Linked DNA regions of Homo sapiens: all the other regions are linked to region 1. The links are contacts of gene promoters, found by promoter capture Hi-C in human tissues and cell types (Jung and others, 2019). All regions are on one chromosome and are shown on one strand. The core of a region is centred on a gene start or on the middle of the fragment in contact, and the rest is flanking DNA. Distances in the headings are between cores, read along the strand shown.

Region 1 (3,616 bases), core at 513-3,012:
GCCCCAAAGCCCGGGCTGCAAACTTTTCCCCGCCGGGCGCCTCTGCGCCAGATGCCGGAGCGTCTCCACAAAGCCTGAGCATCTGCACAAGTTCGCAGCCTAACTGCGGGATAAAGACGTTTCCCCCGTAGCTTAACTAGAAAAGCGCCATCGATGGGTGTGTTAAACGGGATAACTAGAGATTTCAAACACCTTTTATTTGCCTGTCTTGAAAAAAAAATCTAAATGAATACGCCCGCTACCAAAAGGCAAAATAAAACCAACCTTAAGGGTTTTTGTTGTTTTTTTTTTTTTTCAAAAGTGGCGATAGGGACTGTTTGGACCTGACTCCAACCTGCGCCCTCCCTTCCTCTATGACCCTCCTGCGCTTTTCCTGGAACCCAAAGCTCTGACTTCGTCAAACTTACACAATTAAAGGCAGGCGGAAGAACGCGGGCTGGGAAGCAAGCGGGAAGATTCTAGAATGGAAGGGAGCCCGCCGAGCGCCGCGAGCCGCGCCAGGCCGGGTCCGATGGAGCAGGCGGGGATTCCTCCCCCAGGCGGACCCCCGCCACCAGCCCTGCCGGGAGCTCGCGGCCTGCGGAGCGCCCGGGCTGGCCGCTCACCGCCCGCTTCCCCCAGCGAACGACTCGGGGAAGCTCCAGGAGGCCATCTGTGCTGACGGTTCACACCAGACAGGACCACTTGCAAGGACAAAAATAAGAAATTTAGGAAACGAAAAAAGACGTACTGGGGCGAGGGGCGCGGGCGCGGCGACGACGGGGCCGGGGGCACATCCTGGCGGCCGCTCGGGGAGAGAGGACACGCGCGGGAAGGAGCGCGGCGGGTGCACGGCCGCGGGTGGGAGTACGCGCCTGTGCGCGCGGGGCGAGGGCGAGGGCGCGTGCGTGTGACCGCGGGGAGGGGGCGGGCGCGTGTGCGGGGAGCGCGCCGCGCCAGGGGCCGAGTGTGTGGGGCCGATCCAGAAGTGCGCAGCCCCCTCACCTGGCCCCCGTGTCATCCCCGAAATCCCGGGAAAGGGTGGGCCGCGCGCGGGAGTTTGGTGGAGTTGGAACTTTCGGTCGCGCTCGCTGCCCACTCCGCTGGCGCCCGGTGGCCCGTGGTGAAGGGGGACTAGGGTGGGGAACACCGGGGCCCTGCGGTCCCCTCCCTTTCCTGTATTTAAGAAGCCGCCGGCGGCGCAGAGGCCCAGGCGGGCTGGCGCGGGGGCGAGGCGGCCCGGTGGCAGCAGCGGGCGGGGCGGGCGCTCCGGAGTCGGTGGGGCCCGCGGGTTGGGGGGCGGGGAGAGGGGGGAGTGGAAGGGAGGGGGAACGCAGGGGAGGGAGAGGAGGGGAGGAGCCGCGCGGCCCGCGCCGCTTCCGAACCGGAAAGTTGGTCTTGCCGAAGTCCTGCCACCCCGGCGTGCGCACTCCGCTCCGCTCCGGCCGCGAGCCTCCGAGCCCGGCCGGCCGCCGGGGGAAGCCCGCGGAGGGGACGCGGGGCCGGGCGAGAAGGTCCGGAGAGCGGGGGGCACCTGAGCCCGGGCGGGCCCGCCGCGCTGAGCGGCGCTGAGAGCCGCGGCGGAGCAGCGAAGGCGGCCGGCCGACCCCGCGCGCCCGGAACAGGAGGCGCGGCGCCCGAGCGGCCCGGGCGAGACAAAGGCGCCGGGTCGGAGCCCTGCCCGCGGCCGCTCGCTCCGGGAGGGGCCGCCCGGCGGCGGCGGCGGGGGGGGCGCGGGCGGCGGCGCAGACACTCTATAAAGGGGCGAGCCCGGCGCGCCGGCGGAGACGGCGCCGCGCGGACGCCGCCAAAGTTTGCTGCCTGCGCCCTGCGGAGGGACGGCCACCGCGGCCCGCGCCGCACCCGGGCCCCGCCACAGCCGCACCCGGGGCGGCCGAGGAGCGCGGCGCCGGAGCCCGCGATGTGAGGCGGCGCCGGGCAGCGCGCGCCCCGGTCCCGAGGCGCCGCGGCCCCCTCCTCGTCGGCGCGGCCGCTAATTGCGAGCGCGGCCTCATTTGCATAGGCCGCCGGAGTCCGCTGGAGCCCGGCCAATCGGCGCGGCCCTCCGCTAATGGCCATGCATTATTCACCAGCCTAATTGCTCAGCCCCATGCGCGGCCCGCGCAGCCGCCGCCGCCCCGCGCCCCGCGCCGCGCGCCCGCCAGGCCGCCCCGCGCCGTCCCCGCCGGCCGCCCCGCTGATGCCGCTGCCCCGCGCGGGGCCCGAGCGCCGCTAGCAGCATGTCTCGGCGCAAGCAGGCCAAGCCCCAGCACCTCAAGTCGGACGAGGAGCTGCTGCCGCCTGACGGGGCTCCCGAGCACGGTGAGGGCCGGGGCTGCGGGGTGGCCGGGGGGTCTGGGGCTGCCCGTCCGGGCTGGGGAAGCGCGTGCGGCGGGAGCGGATGCGCGCGTCCGGGAGCGGGAGAAAGTTCCCTGCTTCCTGCGGGCAAGCGTCCGCCCCGCGCCAGGCCGGCCGCGGGGCCCCGGGTACTTCGCCGGAGCGCGCGCGGCCGCCGAGAGAGTTGTGGGCGAAGTAAACTTGGCTCCTCTCCTCGGAGTCGGGGAGCTGCCCGCGAAGGGCGCCGAGGCCGCGGCCGGCTCGAGGACGGCTCGGAGGCCGGGGCGGGAGGGAGTCCACGGTGCCTCCGCCGCCGCGCCGCCCCCCAGGGTCTCTGCGCCAGGACGCTGAGGCCGGCGGCGGCGGGGAAGGCGACCGCAGCCCACCTACCGCTGGACGCGGGTTGGGGACCCCGCCGCCCGGCCAGCTTTGTTCGGGGGCCCGCGGCCCCTCCCGGGCCCCCGCACCGCCTCGGGTGACCCGCGGTGTCCCAGCGCGTTGACGCAGCCTGTGATCCCTCGCGAGGCGAGGAGAAGGTCGGGGGCTTGGCTCTGCCTAATGGCCGCCCGGGGAATTAAGCTGGGGGTGAGCGCAGCGGCGGCGGCCTGGGCCTGGCCCCTGCTCGCGGCGTGTTTCCGGGGCGTTCGTTGCAGCGTCTGCGCGGGCCTTTTCTCTCCCGTCTTTTTGGATCCGCCGAGGCCGGGCGCTGGAGACCTCGGCTTTGCAGTCATTTCGCTGGTAGGAGCGTCCTCTTCGAAACATCCAAGAGCAAAGGGCAGGCGCCGCGAAAGTTAAGAGACTGGCAAAGGGCTGGACTTCCCAGAGTGGCGCCTTAGCCCCGCAAAGTTTGGGGCGCCCCCACCCCCTTCGTCGAGTCAAAACCTCGGCCGGCGGCGCCCGGGCTTCGGCGCGCCCCGCGGGGCCCCCAGGGCGCCAGGAAAGAGGGCCGAGGAGGGGCGACCCCACGACCCCGAGCCCGCAGCACAGCTCGCAGTAAAATAATTTGCTCCTTAAAAAAACAGGCAGGCCAACTTTTATGATTGACCTGTTATAAGTTGTTGGAGGCAGATGGTGATCTTTTTACTCTGAGAATGAGACTGTCTGCGAAAAGGAAACGGGGCGGAAGAGTTTCCCACACAGTGGAGTAAAGTTTGACAAAGCGGGTAGACACCCATGTCGGATGAGAACGAGAGAGCATGCTTATGACGCGGCTGGAGAATTAATGAATTAAATAAAATTAGTGAGCTCGCTGGGGTCTTTTTGTTGCGGTGGAGGTAAGGGAGTCTTATCTGTGTAGCCA
Region 2 (3,616 bases), core at 394-2,893, 850 kb before region 1:
CAACCTGAGATTGGGGTGGGACAGATATCTGAACCATATCACACTATGAAAGAATAAATTCGTGTTCTTTTAAGCCACTCATTTTGTGGTAATTTGTTGTGGCAGGCGTGGGCATCTGATATACCCATTAAATCATCACAGGTGCCAAAGCTCACACTCACGTACGAGGCAATTTTCAACTGTCAGGATCAACGTGGTTTCTTCCTTACATGGCAAACCTATCCCAAAGTTATGCTCTCAATTCAGACAGGAACTCAGGAAAGCCAAGGCTGCTTGGAGAGTGGGATAAAATATTTATGTTTGGTCAGTGAGGTCAATGCAGACAGAAATAGAGTGGCTTCAGTGAACTTCGAGAATCCCGTCTCACCCCTCGGGACAGAACAGGGCAGGAGTATGTCCTGGCATTTCAAATAGAGCCAGTGACTGCCCCAAATTCCCATTGCTAATGTCAGCAGGCATAGGTTAGATGTGTGTACAATGGCATTGGCTGAACTGTGTGTACCACAGTCTATGGGTAGCATTAGACACGGGCTTTTCAGAACACACACAATCCCTTCCTCCTGATGATTGATTCTGGAAAACTTATGTTTAGATTTTTTGCCTTGGATCACAGGAAATTCTGAACTAAAGTTGACCCTTCAGAGTGATGATTAAATTGTCTTCCAGATAAGCTTTATTTTTTCCTTTTTGTGGTCTCGACTATCCATGCATTTTTCTTATTGAACATGTGATAAGCTTTAGTAAGTCAGTGAAACCCTGTGGGGAGGAAGTGGGTTGCAGACGTAGATTCTGACAGTTACATGAACATATGCATGAAAGCAGAGATTAAAAACTGGCACATGTGAGCTCCAAAAAGCTGTCAGACCCAAGGCTTGGTGTGGGAGCAGGTGTCCTGAGAGGTGCACGACACAGAGGAGGAGTGAGGTGGGAGGACAGATGAGCAGAGAGAGCTGGACACGGTCACGGCACAATCTCCCATGAGCAAAGACAGAGAAGGCTGAGTGCACATGCCCAGGTGGAGCCAGGAACGCACTGGCTCGGCTGCCACAGAGGGTTTGTGTGTGAGAGACAGAGAGTGTGAGTGTGCACACCCAGCTGGATTCGGGAATGCACTGGCTTGGCTGCCTCAGAAGGCTTGTGTATGAGAGGTGGAGAGTGTGAGTGTGCACACACAGGTGGATTTGGGAACACACTGGCCTGGCTGCCTCAGAGGGCTTGTGTATGAGAAGCAGATAGTGTGGGTGTGCACACCCAGGTGGATTCAGGAATGCATTGGCTCAGCTGCCGCAGAGAGTTTGTGTATGAAAGACAGAGAGTGTGAGTGCTCATGCCCAGGTGGATTCGGGAACACGCTGGCCAGGCTGCTGCAGAGGGCTTGTGTATGAGAGGTGGAGCGGGGCTTAACAGGTAAGCAGAGTTTGTGCTGGGCAGAACCTCCCATGTTGGAGTAAGCCCTTTGGACTCACCTCTGATGATAAGGGAAATATGGCTCCAAGGCAGGCATAAATGATGCCAGTATGCATTTGCTGTGAAATTTCCAGAATCCCTTCAGTGGGCAGCGTTTCCAGTGGGGCTACACGAGGGGCTGTGCAGGACCCGCTCTGGGTGAGCAAAGGACTGATGCTCTTCTGCCCTAACCATACAGAGGACGTGATGCTGAGCCTCCCTTGGATGCCGGAGGCCACCTTCTCATCTTCACCTGTCACTTCTTCTTCCCTATGAAAAAGTTATAGGTACAAGAGAAACAAACAAACAAGGTAAAATAAACAAAAAAAAAATCACTCAATAAAAAGGCAAAGATAAAGCAGTAAAAGTAAGCAGCCACGGTGAGAACAAAAATGCCCAACTGGACAAAACCATCACAGAAGGCCAGGCAGGGTCTTTGGTCTAAATTAGAAACAAATAAAGCAATAAAGCATGTCTCCAGAGCGGAGTCTGAGGTCCAGCAAGGGAGCCGGGTTTAAGGGAGGGTCAGGGGTGAAGGTCTCGCAAGGCGGGCGTCTCTTGAGGCTGGCCTTCCCTCCAGATAACCACGGGCAGAGAGTGCTTGTCCTGACCACGGCGTGATGACCAGAGGACATCGGCCCTGGCCTGTGGCAGGCACCGAGCTCTCTGGAGCTTTGAACCCTCAAGAAAGCAGAGGTGCATGCGAACACTTAGCTTTGCCTCCTTCACTTTCTCAGACCCCAGAACGTCTCCCGGTGGAGTCCAGAGGGCAGAGAGTTCCGGGCACACACAGTCGGGGCTCCCGCATCCAACTGATGGGGTGGAGCCCTTCCTCTTCCTCTTAATTGATGCTGAACTTGAGCTCAGGCGAGATCGCATTTTTGTTTTGTTTATGTAACAAAGTGGATTAATACTGTTGTCTTTACCTGAAGGTTTCGATGAAGGTAAAAGAAAGTTTATGACAAACACTTAGCCCAGTGTCAGACATCTAGAATATTCAGAGCAAATTACAGCTATCAGTATGCACGAAAACCTTCACACACACGACAAAAATGTTGAAATTAACTAGGTGGTACATAGAACAGAAAGGAAGAGGCTTTTCAGATGAAAGGACCCCTTTGAATCTGAACCTCACCCCTCACTCGATGTTGAGCAAATTATTAAACCTCGTTGAGTCTGATTTTCCACATCAGTAAAAATACTTAAGAATGTATCTCACGTGTATGTAGAATCTTGTGTGCTCCAGAAATGCTACCTTCTTCTTCTCAAGCAGTGTTCCAGAAAGTATTCTATAGGTTATATAAGGTACTTTTCCCCCCAGCAGAAATTGACATCTAAAACATTTTAATCATTTGCCTTGTTTATTAAATATTCAGATTTAAGAAATGACTTCCTTCAAAGATTGACCTCTGCCTAGGCAAACTGTTGCATTCCTTTTGGATTTCATCTTAAATACTCAAACTGATGTTTTAAGTGCCTGCAGAATTGGGTCTATTCTTATTAAGCTATGTTTGTGTGTGTGTGTGTGTGTGTGTGTGTGTGTGTGTGTTCAATATTAAAGTAAAAAGAAGCTAATTGACCTAAAATAATTTTCTTCTTGAGAGACTCTGGAGATATGATTTGAAAATGATTGGTTTCGAAAGAAGAGATTATAAAAATTCTGATGAGTCTTTCTATTTTCTTTACACATACACGCACAACACACAAGCAACACACATGTACACACTCATACATGTGCACACAGAGACACACACATACAACACATGTAACAGCTGTGCACTCACACACACGCATGCACACACACATACACACACGTGTGTGCACACACAATTTTCCAGCTTATGCTGTAGTGATCTCATTAAGAAAGATTCTTTGAAAGTAAGAGTCAGTATTTGGGGTCCCTAAGCCAGCAATGACATGGCTTCTGATTGCCTTTTTAGGTGACTCTTTTGTTGCAGCTCAAGTGAGCTGGTCCCACATGAGGCTACCTGGTTGGCAACAGCAGAATTATGACACAAGTGATCTTGTTTTCTCCTTACCTTTGATTTTCTTTTTGGATTTTAATAAAATGAAATATGTAGCTTATCTATAAATTATCTGTCTAGGTTTACTTTTTATGTCCAGACCATTTTAGGATCTATCCTTAAAGAAGTGCCACAAAAGAAGTAAA
Region 3 (3,616 bases), core at 612-3,111, 600 kb before region 1:
ATAGCACGGCAGGATTGGTCGAGCGTAAGGTTAATGGATACATCACTATCTACTGGGCAGGCCTCCAAAATATTAATTCCTTTCCAATGAAGTTTATAAAAGAGTCTCTGCAATCTTGTTCCTTATTTCCAATTTCTCCGCTGCCTCTCCAGTGACTATCATCACAGCTTTTGAATGCACCCCCATTGGAGGACGCTCGGTGTCTCCCTCAGTTTCCTGCCTTGCATCCAACTTCAAACAGGCAGGTTCCCTGGAGAACAAGCCCATCGCCATCAAATCCATGTCTGGGCTCTGGGTGGGGGTCAGCGGGAGCCCCACGGGCAGGGTCTCCGCCATGGCACTGGGATGCTGAAATAGCAGCATTTGACACATTTAAAACTTGCTGTTTGTGCAATCACTAAAAACTGCACCATTAGCTGAAAATCTTGCATGAGTGCAGATCATTAAGTGTTATTACAGTATTAATTATTAGAAATGTCCTGTACTGCCCAAATTAAATAGGGATAGTCAACGACCTGCGAGTTTCCAATACCATGGATAATTTAACCGGAGATCTGCTACGCTGGGTAAGGTGTCTTCATAGGCCACTCACATTATTTCACATTAAGTACCAACTGGGTATCTCAAAAGAAAATGAACAAATCAGACCCTAATATTTTCCTATGGCAACGTTGCCACAGAAACTTTTAGGGAAAAAGAAAAAGGTGAGATGAGGCAGGAACTGATGTTGATGTTTCCATGATAACTTCATGCTGGATACAGAAAGTTGACTAATTGTGATCAGCATTTTCACAGTGAGGCACCTCTCACCATCGGAGTGATTTCACGCAATTTCTGTGTCTAATAATCTGTGTTAAGTTGATAAAAAAGAAAGTGAAATGAACATCAATATTAAGGGCCAATCCAGTCAAAATTGGATGAATATTTTTGAAAGCACCTTTGACTAAATACACCCAGTCACTTCCAAATTGTTACAGAAACCGGGTCTGAAAATCCCATCAATCACTTCTTTGTGGTAAAGTGTGTTTTTGCAGTTGCAGGGAATGACATCCAGGTCCACGAGGAAGCTGAGAACTCCTACCCCTGGGTACAGCCCAGGCCCGGCCTTGGTGGACGAGGGCAATGTGGCCCGCTCAGCTTCTGGTCCCCGGCTCGGAGGCCTCTTCCCTCCTCCCTGGTGCGTTTCCATGGCAACCACCCAGCCACCTAGACACGTTCAGCTGGTGCTCCCACTGCAACCAGAGCTGGTGTCTGGGCATTTGTGCATCTTCCTAATTAAAAAGGAAAACCAAGAAAAAAATCTGTTTTTTAAAAATAAGGGGGAATTTTTTCATCAGATACATAGTATCAATGTTTATACATAATTAGATAGTTTAATGCAATAATTTAGCTCTGATGTAGATGTGTTAATGTACAAGCTACTTAACATTTTGTGGCCCAAGTTTTCATATTTGTGGAAAAAATATCTCCAACGTTCCTTCCACGGAGGGAGGCTGGCATGAGGCAAAGGGCCAGGACAAGGCTTCTAAACCTGGCTCCAGCGCTTTCAGCAGCCCGCCAGCTGTGCTCCTGGCTCCACTGCCGTTCTTACCTGTAAAATGCTCTAAGCATTAAATAAGAGCATGGAGACAGAGCTCCCGATTGCACAGCCCTGATCAATGTAAATGCAGGGTCTTCCTTCCTCATGTGCCTTCTCTTCTCAAATGTGAAATTCAAGCCTACAGTGACCCACAGAACAGTTGAATGGCCACAGAAGTCATTCACAGCAGCTTTAATTTAACAAAGTCCTTTATGGTAAGTAACTTTCTGTCCCGAAGAACGCCACACCTGCCTAAATGGGCCATGTCTTATCTACAAGTTAAAGCAGAAAAGGATCGGAAGCAGGCAACAATGTCAACTGGGTACAGAGGATGTGGGTTCAAATCCAGCCTCTGCCCCATGGGGTTTTGTAAAACAAAATGGATCAAAATTAGCTCAAAGCTTTCACAACAGGGCCTGAGAGTTGTTAGCTGTCACAAATAATAGCTTCTGACAGTTCTATCTGATGATATAAATGGTATGGAAAGGTAGAAGCTTCAAGTTGGTAAACTATAAGCTCTGTTAATATTGTATCTCCCTAGAGTCTCACCATAGGAAAAGAGTCACTATTATTCCCTTGCCCCAGTAAGGAATGTTGAGGTCACAGAACTTAAACTTCTCCAAGGTCACACGTTGAAGAGCACTTGAACTTGGGCCTATGCAGTCAGAGCCAGCCTTCCTTCCATTAGTTCACAGAGGGCTTGTTTGAGGTCTCCAAAAAAAAAAAAAAGCAAAAAGTGGAAACAATTGTAGATTTTAAGAGGAAAATGTGTTAAGGACAAAATAGCAAAAGAAGTAAATCTATGGCAATGAAAGCCTCCAGGCTGATGTTGGTTCCCTGGAGCGTGGTTTCAGTGAAATACAGGTTCATCAGCCCCAGTGGCTACATTGCAGGGAGACACCTATCAGCTTCCTACGTCTAGAAATTCATAGCCCTTTCTAAGAGCATTCAGATACGGTTTGCAAAATCTCTGTCTGGAGCATAGGCAGTATTATGCCAAGCACAGCAAGCCCCTTAAACTGCACAAACATCTTTATCCCTCCTCACTCCTGTCTTGCCCTGATTTCAAATCTGCATCCTGCCTCAGGATCCTGGAGAGCCAATAGAAGATGCTGGGTGGTGTCCTGGGTGCTGGTGGTTGGGCAGCAGGGGGAGGCCAGGGCTGTGGGTAGTAACTGTCACGTGGCCAAACTCAGAGGGGGCAGCGTCAAAGAAGTGTGTTCCCCCCTCCCCCTCCCCATCCTTCCTTCTCCCTCCCTGCTCTGCAGCACCCAGTATGTGGGGTTACATGGAGAGGAAAAGATGAGATGGAGAGGAGGAAGAAATGCTGCAGGAACACAAAGGAGATGTGTTGTGGGCTCAACAGACAATGGCTCTGAGAAGAGCAGGGGACAGCTGCACCTGTGGGTGCTCAGGGCCCCCAGAGCCTGTTAGACCCAGGCAGCCCCAGACCCCTGCTCCAGGGATCCATGGCACGTTGCTTGGCTGAAGAGCTCTAACAGCTAAAAAGAGCCGAGGCAGCCTGACCAGGAGGTTCAGTCTTACTGCATCCATTGGCCTCTTCTTAAGTTTGGTTGCTCACACGCTGTTGTTAGAATTTTAATAATACAGGGTGTGTGATGGGTTCAGATACTTTGGTCTGATCCAATTCAATCCACCCTTAGTTGGACAGAAATTAAACACATTTTCTATAATTTTTAAATTTTTTTTATCAAGGGAAGACATGCTATCTTAATACCTTCACCACAATGTTTGCACTATCATCCTTTCTATCAAACCAAAACTTTTTAGAAACGTAGTCTTCATGTTTTTTCAGTTGCACAATTCCAGACAACAGAACAAAATCCAATGTGCTGCTCAGAAGGTAGCCGGGCAGAAAACCACCTCCTGCTGCAGGAAGGCAGGAGCTGCAGGAAGGCAGGAGCGGCAGGAAGGCAGGAGCGGCAGGAAGGCAGGAGCGGCAAACAGTGGGTTTTCCTTCCTCAGTCTATTCAACGCCATGAGGTGGGAACGCCACAGCCCACACAGGCAATTTAA
Region 4 (3,616 bases), core at 544-3,043, 530 kb before region 1:
GTATCAAATAGCATCTTAAAGGGATATTTATGAAGTGCTAGATACTAATGATTGCAATTGCAGATAGAGCCTTAAGTGTCTACCTATAAACAGACTCATATACAGAAGGGTAAGGTGGCTGGAGGAAAACTCCTTTCATCGTATGAAAATGAAGGAGCCGTGAAAACCATCCAGACCCTCCTAAGAGAGAGTCCACAGACATGTGTGTTTTCCTATGAGGAAAAAAAACATCCTTTCCTCTTCTGTTGTGCTATCAGATAAGATGAAATTATGTTGTGCATATTTTCTTTCTGACAATTAAAAAGAAATCTTCCAGCACTTTGGGAGGCCGAGGCGGGTGGATCATGAGGTCAGGAGATCGAGACCATCCTGGCTAACAAGGTGAAACCCCGTCTCTACTAAAAATACAAAAAATTAGCCGGGCGCGGTGGCGGGCGCCTGTAGTCCCAGCTACTCGGGAGGCTGAGGCAGGAGAATGGCGTGAACCCGGGAAGCGGAGCTTGCAGTGAGCCGAGATTGCGCCACTGCAGTCCGCAGTCCGGCCTGGGCGACAGAGCGAGACTCCGTCTCAAAAAAAAAAAAAAAAAAAAAAAAAAAAAAAAAAAAAAAGAAATCTTAGGATAATGCGTGAAGAATTATTTTGGTATAAAGAAACAATGCTCCAATACCCAGAAAAAGATACATTTTCATTGCCAATCCAGATGTATCATACAAGCTTTTTCATGATTGAGTTACAAAGATAGAAAATTCTAATTCATGTATTTGTGTTAATGCTTCTCAGTAACAAAATAGGACTCCTTTTAAAACTTAAAAAACATTGTCCTCTTAGGAGATAATACTGATAATACGGCATTGTAATAGCTGGAGTCTGGAGGTCAGTGCTGGGCTGGAATGAGTTCCACCAGCAGGAGAGCATGCAGGCAGGGGGCAGTTCTGTCCACAGCCAGGTGTGTGGTAGATCTTCTAGGGGGTCAAACGTCTGCTGTTGAGCACGAGGCACCGTGCATGCCAGGCCCTCAGCTCATGGGAGGAAGACCACACGCCACCTTCCCAGGCAGCCCCCAGGGGAGGAGAGCATCGCAAAAATAAATCAGCACATAGTTACATGGATTTATGAGTTGAGTTGATTCAATGAGATGAATCCAGGCAGAGTGCAGACTGGGCACTGCACATGTGCCTGACCGTGGCCCGTCCACTGGCTGGGGAAGTGGTCAATTTGGAATGCCGTTGCGCAGTTTCCATAAAACCCCTGCAATTTAAACTGTCAACGAGGACTGGCAATACCTTCTAATTTAATACCCACCCACCCCCGCCCCCAACTATTAGCTTGAACAAATTGCTCAGGAAACAAGAATTTATAAACATGCTACATATATATTATTAATTGCTTCTTTTTTAAGCCCACAACACACCTGTCAGTTTCTATGTACCACTGCAGTTGAGGCACAACGAAGCAAGAATTACAAAATTACTAAAGGAAGCATAAGACTTGGGTCCAAAAGTCTGGAAAAGTCAAGAGAAAAACTGCTTACATGCTGAGTCCTTACGGAGGACAGCTGGACAGCCGCCTCTCCTTAGCCTCTGCGCATTCTCCCTGCCAACAAGTCCTCTGTCTCGCCGCAAGTTGACCTTTCCCTTCACAGACATTGTTCGGGAAATCCTGTCACCCAGGACCCACAGGAGCACAACCACAGACCCTCGAGTTCCCTGAATCCCTTTCCGACATTTCAGCTCAATGACCTCTCAGCTCTGATGCAATATTCACTAATGGGCATTTTTCTTCTGTGCTGTATTGAGTCTTCAAAAACAACTGTCTTTGTATTAGTTATTGATTGGGCACTCCAAAGAGATTGATGATGAAAAAATACAACACACTTCGATGAACATTTTGATGGAAAAAAAGGCAAATTTCTACAGATGGGAGTACGAAGACAGCTGTGTGTGTGTTCCAAGCTATATTCTGTCTGCAGGATGACAGTTCTGGTGGCGATGATTACTGTTATCTAGATAACACTGTGTCATACATTACTTGTTTTCAGGCATTAATTCATACGATTCTTACAATTTTCTTATGGAGTCTATGGAGAAGAATGCTTACTCTCATTTTGTAGGTAAGAAAAATAAACCAATGGGAAGACTCTTTGATACATAATCAGTTTACCTAATGTATCTGAGGGAATTATAAATAATGTGGTATGCATCCTTTATGTTATTTGAGAAATTTCTAAAGAACATAAAATATACAGATTAATTTCTTGTGCATGGGGGCATGAGGATGGGGCATCTTTGGGAGTTAGTTCTTGGAGAGTTGGCCTGGCTTGAAATCAGTGGCTCCTTCCATGACATCAGAATCATCCACGCCGTCTGTCAGCCCAAGCCCCAAACTTCAACTTGGACCCCGTGCATTCTCTTCTTCTTCTGGTGGCTAACACTAGACAGCAGGCAGATGCAGGCGTCTTTCACATGTCTGCCGAGCAGCCATGGCTACACTAATTAAGGCCTTCAGCTCCTATGAAGACCGAAATCAAGCGGCTTAGAAGCAAAGCATCCACATCCCCTGGAGTCTTTCCTGAGTGCAAGTCCTCAGGGCCCCAGGAAGGGTTGTGAGGGTTGTGAATTACTATCTGAAAATAATAGCAACACAAAGTACAGACATTACTGTGACAGCCTGTGCTTTTTGTTTAAAGGGCAAAGTGTATGAAATCGTTTATTTGTATCAGCAAGCTTTGCTTGAATCTGATAAATGCATCCATCGTTTTCTAAATGCACATTTGCCTATGTCCAGGCTGCGACAAGAAAGCAGCTTTGGCTGAGACTTCCTGGGAGAGGGTGGAACAGTAGAAGCGACATGCTCAGAAAGTCATCAGACCCAGCCTTGGGAGCTGCTGTAGTCCTCACACTTAGATCCCAAAGGGAAACCTCAAATCTCAGCTGGCATTTGCCGCCTTATCTTAGTTAATATTTCAACCACCACCTCTCTATGAAAATAATTCTTCTGTGACTGGTGTGATTGTTTTTTCTTAAAATATTTTTAAAAATACATTCTTAATTGCCATTCCAGCTCTGGTGTAAAATTATACCATCTCTATTCATTATCATTTTAATTTAATGTTTTAACAGGATTTGCCTTGCACTCTTTGTCAGTCAACATCTAACAGAGCAGATAGAGACAAAACGAGCATTCAGCATTTCCTGCAATGGTTTCCATAGGCATTTTTATTCTACCAATATGTTTAGGAAGAGTAATATACTGGTCTACATGAGTTTATTTGCCTTTCTCTGCGGGTAATTAACAGTAGAGGGGGTAGGTCTGAGTTAACTATTAATAGTTTAGAAGTAAACCTGAATTTCAAAAACAACACATTATCAGACACAGTAAAAACCTGATTCTTCCATTTATTTTAAGAACTTATCAATGAATGGAAATTTCCAACTGTGTCAGACTACTGAACAATTGTGTTTTCCCAGCTGATGTTCATTTATGCTGCACACTGCTGTATACCTGTATTGCTGTCTAACAGTGTTAATTTCTTCTAACCATACGGGGTATAGGAAAAGAACTTTTCATGATGTCCCTGAGCCATCAGGCACAGTCTGTGTTCACAGAAATTGTTTT

Evidence for each region. Contacts are between HindIII fragments. The study calls those that stand out against the background at their distance.
Region 2: a fragment that was not itself captured here is called in contact with the fragment with the promoter of SALL3 in region 1 in 4 of the 25 tissues and cell types used here (H1 embryonic stem cells, lymphoblastoid cells, mesendoderm cells and 1 more).
Region 3: a fragment that was not itself captured here is called in contact with the fragment with the promoter of SALL3 in region 1 in 2 of the 25 tissues and cell types used here (H1 embryonic stem cells and lymphoblastoid cells).
Region 4: a fragment that was not itself captured here is called in contact with the fragment with the promoter of SALL3 in region 1 in 4 of the 25 tissues and cell types used here (H1 embryonic stem cells, IMR-90 fibroblasts, mesendoderm cells and 1 more).

Annotation. Positions count from the first base shown.
Region 1 is chr18:78,978,056-78,981,671 of GRCh38, forward strand. It overlaps SALL3 (spalt like transcription factor 3), which reads left to right and starts at 1,763. Exons shown (of 3, transcript NM_171999.4): 1 at 1,763-2,301. The coding sequence starts at 2,220. It overlaps LINC01896 (long intergenic non-protein coding RNA 1896), which reads right to left and starts at 1,636. Exons shown (of 5, transcript NR_187297.1): 1 at 985-1,636; 2 at 408-683. RefSeq lists an enhancer at 3,180-3,616. The HindIII fragment of the contact is 21,440 bases long and covers 1-3,616 here.
Region 2 is chr18:78,129,651-78,133,266 of GRCh38, forward strand. No RefSeq gene overlaps it. Among named protein-coding and RNA genes, the nearest start is that of LINC01029, 140 kb to the left of the region's middle. The HindIII fragment of the contact is 6,643 bases long and covers 1-3,616 here.
Region 3 is chr18:78,375,061-78,378,676 of GRCh38, forward strand. No RefSeq gene overlaps it. Among named protein-coding and RNA genes, the nearest start is that of LINC01029, 380 kb to the left of the region's middle. The HindIII fragment of the contact is 3,010 bases long and covers 357-3,366 here.
Region 4 is chr18:78,452,826-78,456,441 of GRCh38, forward strand. No RefSeq gene overlaps it. Among named protein-coding and RNA genes, the nearest start is that of LINC01029, 460 kb to the left of the region's middle. The HindIII fragment of the contact is 5,065 bases long and covers 1-3,616 here.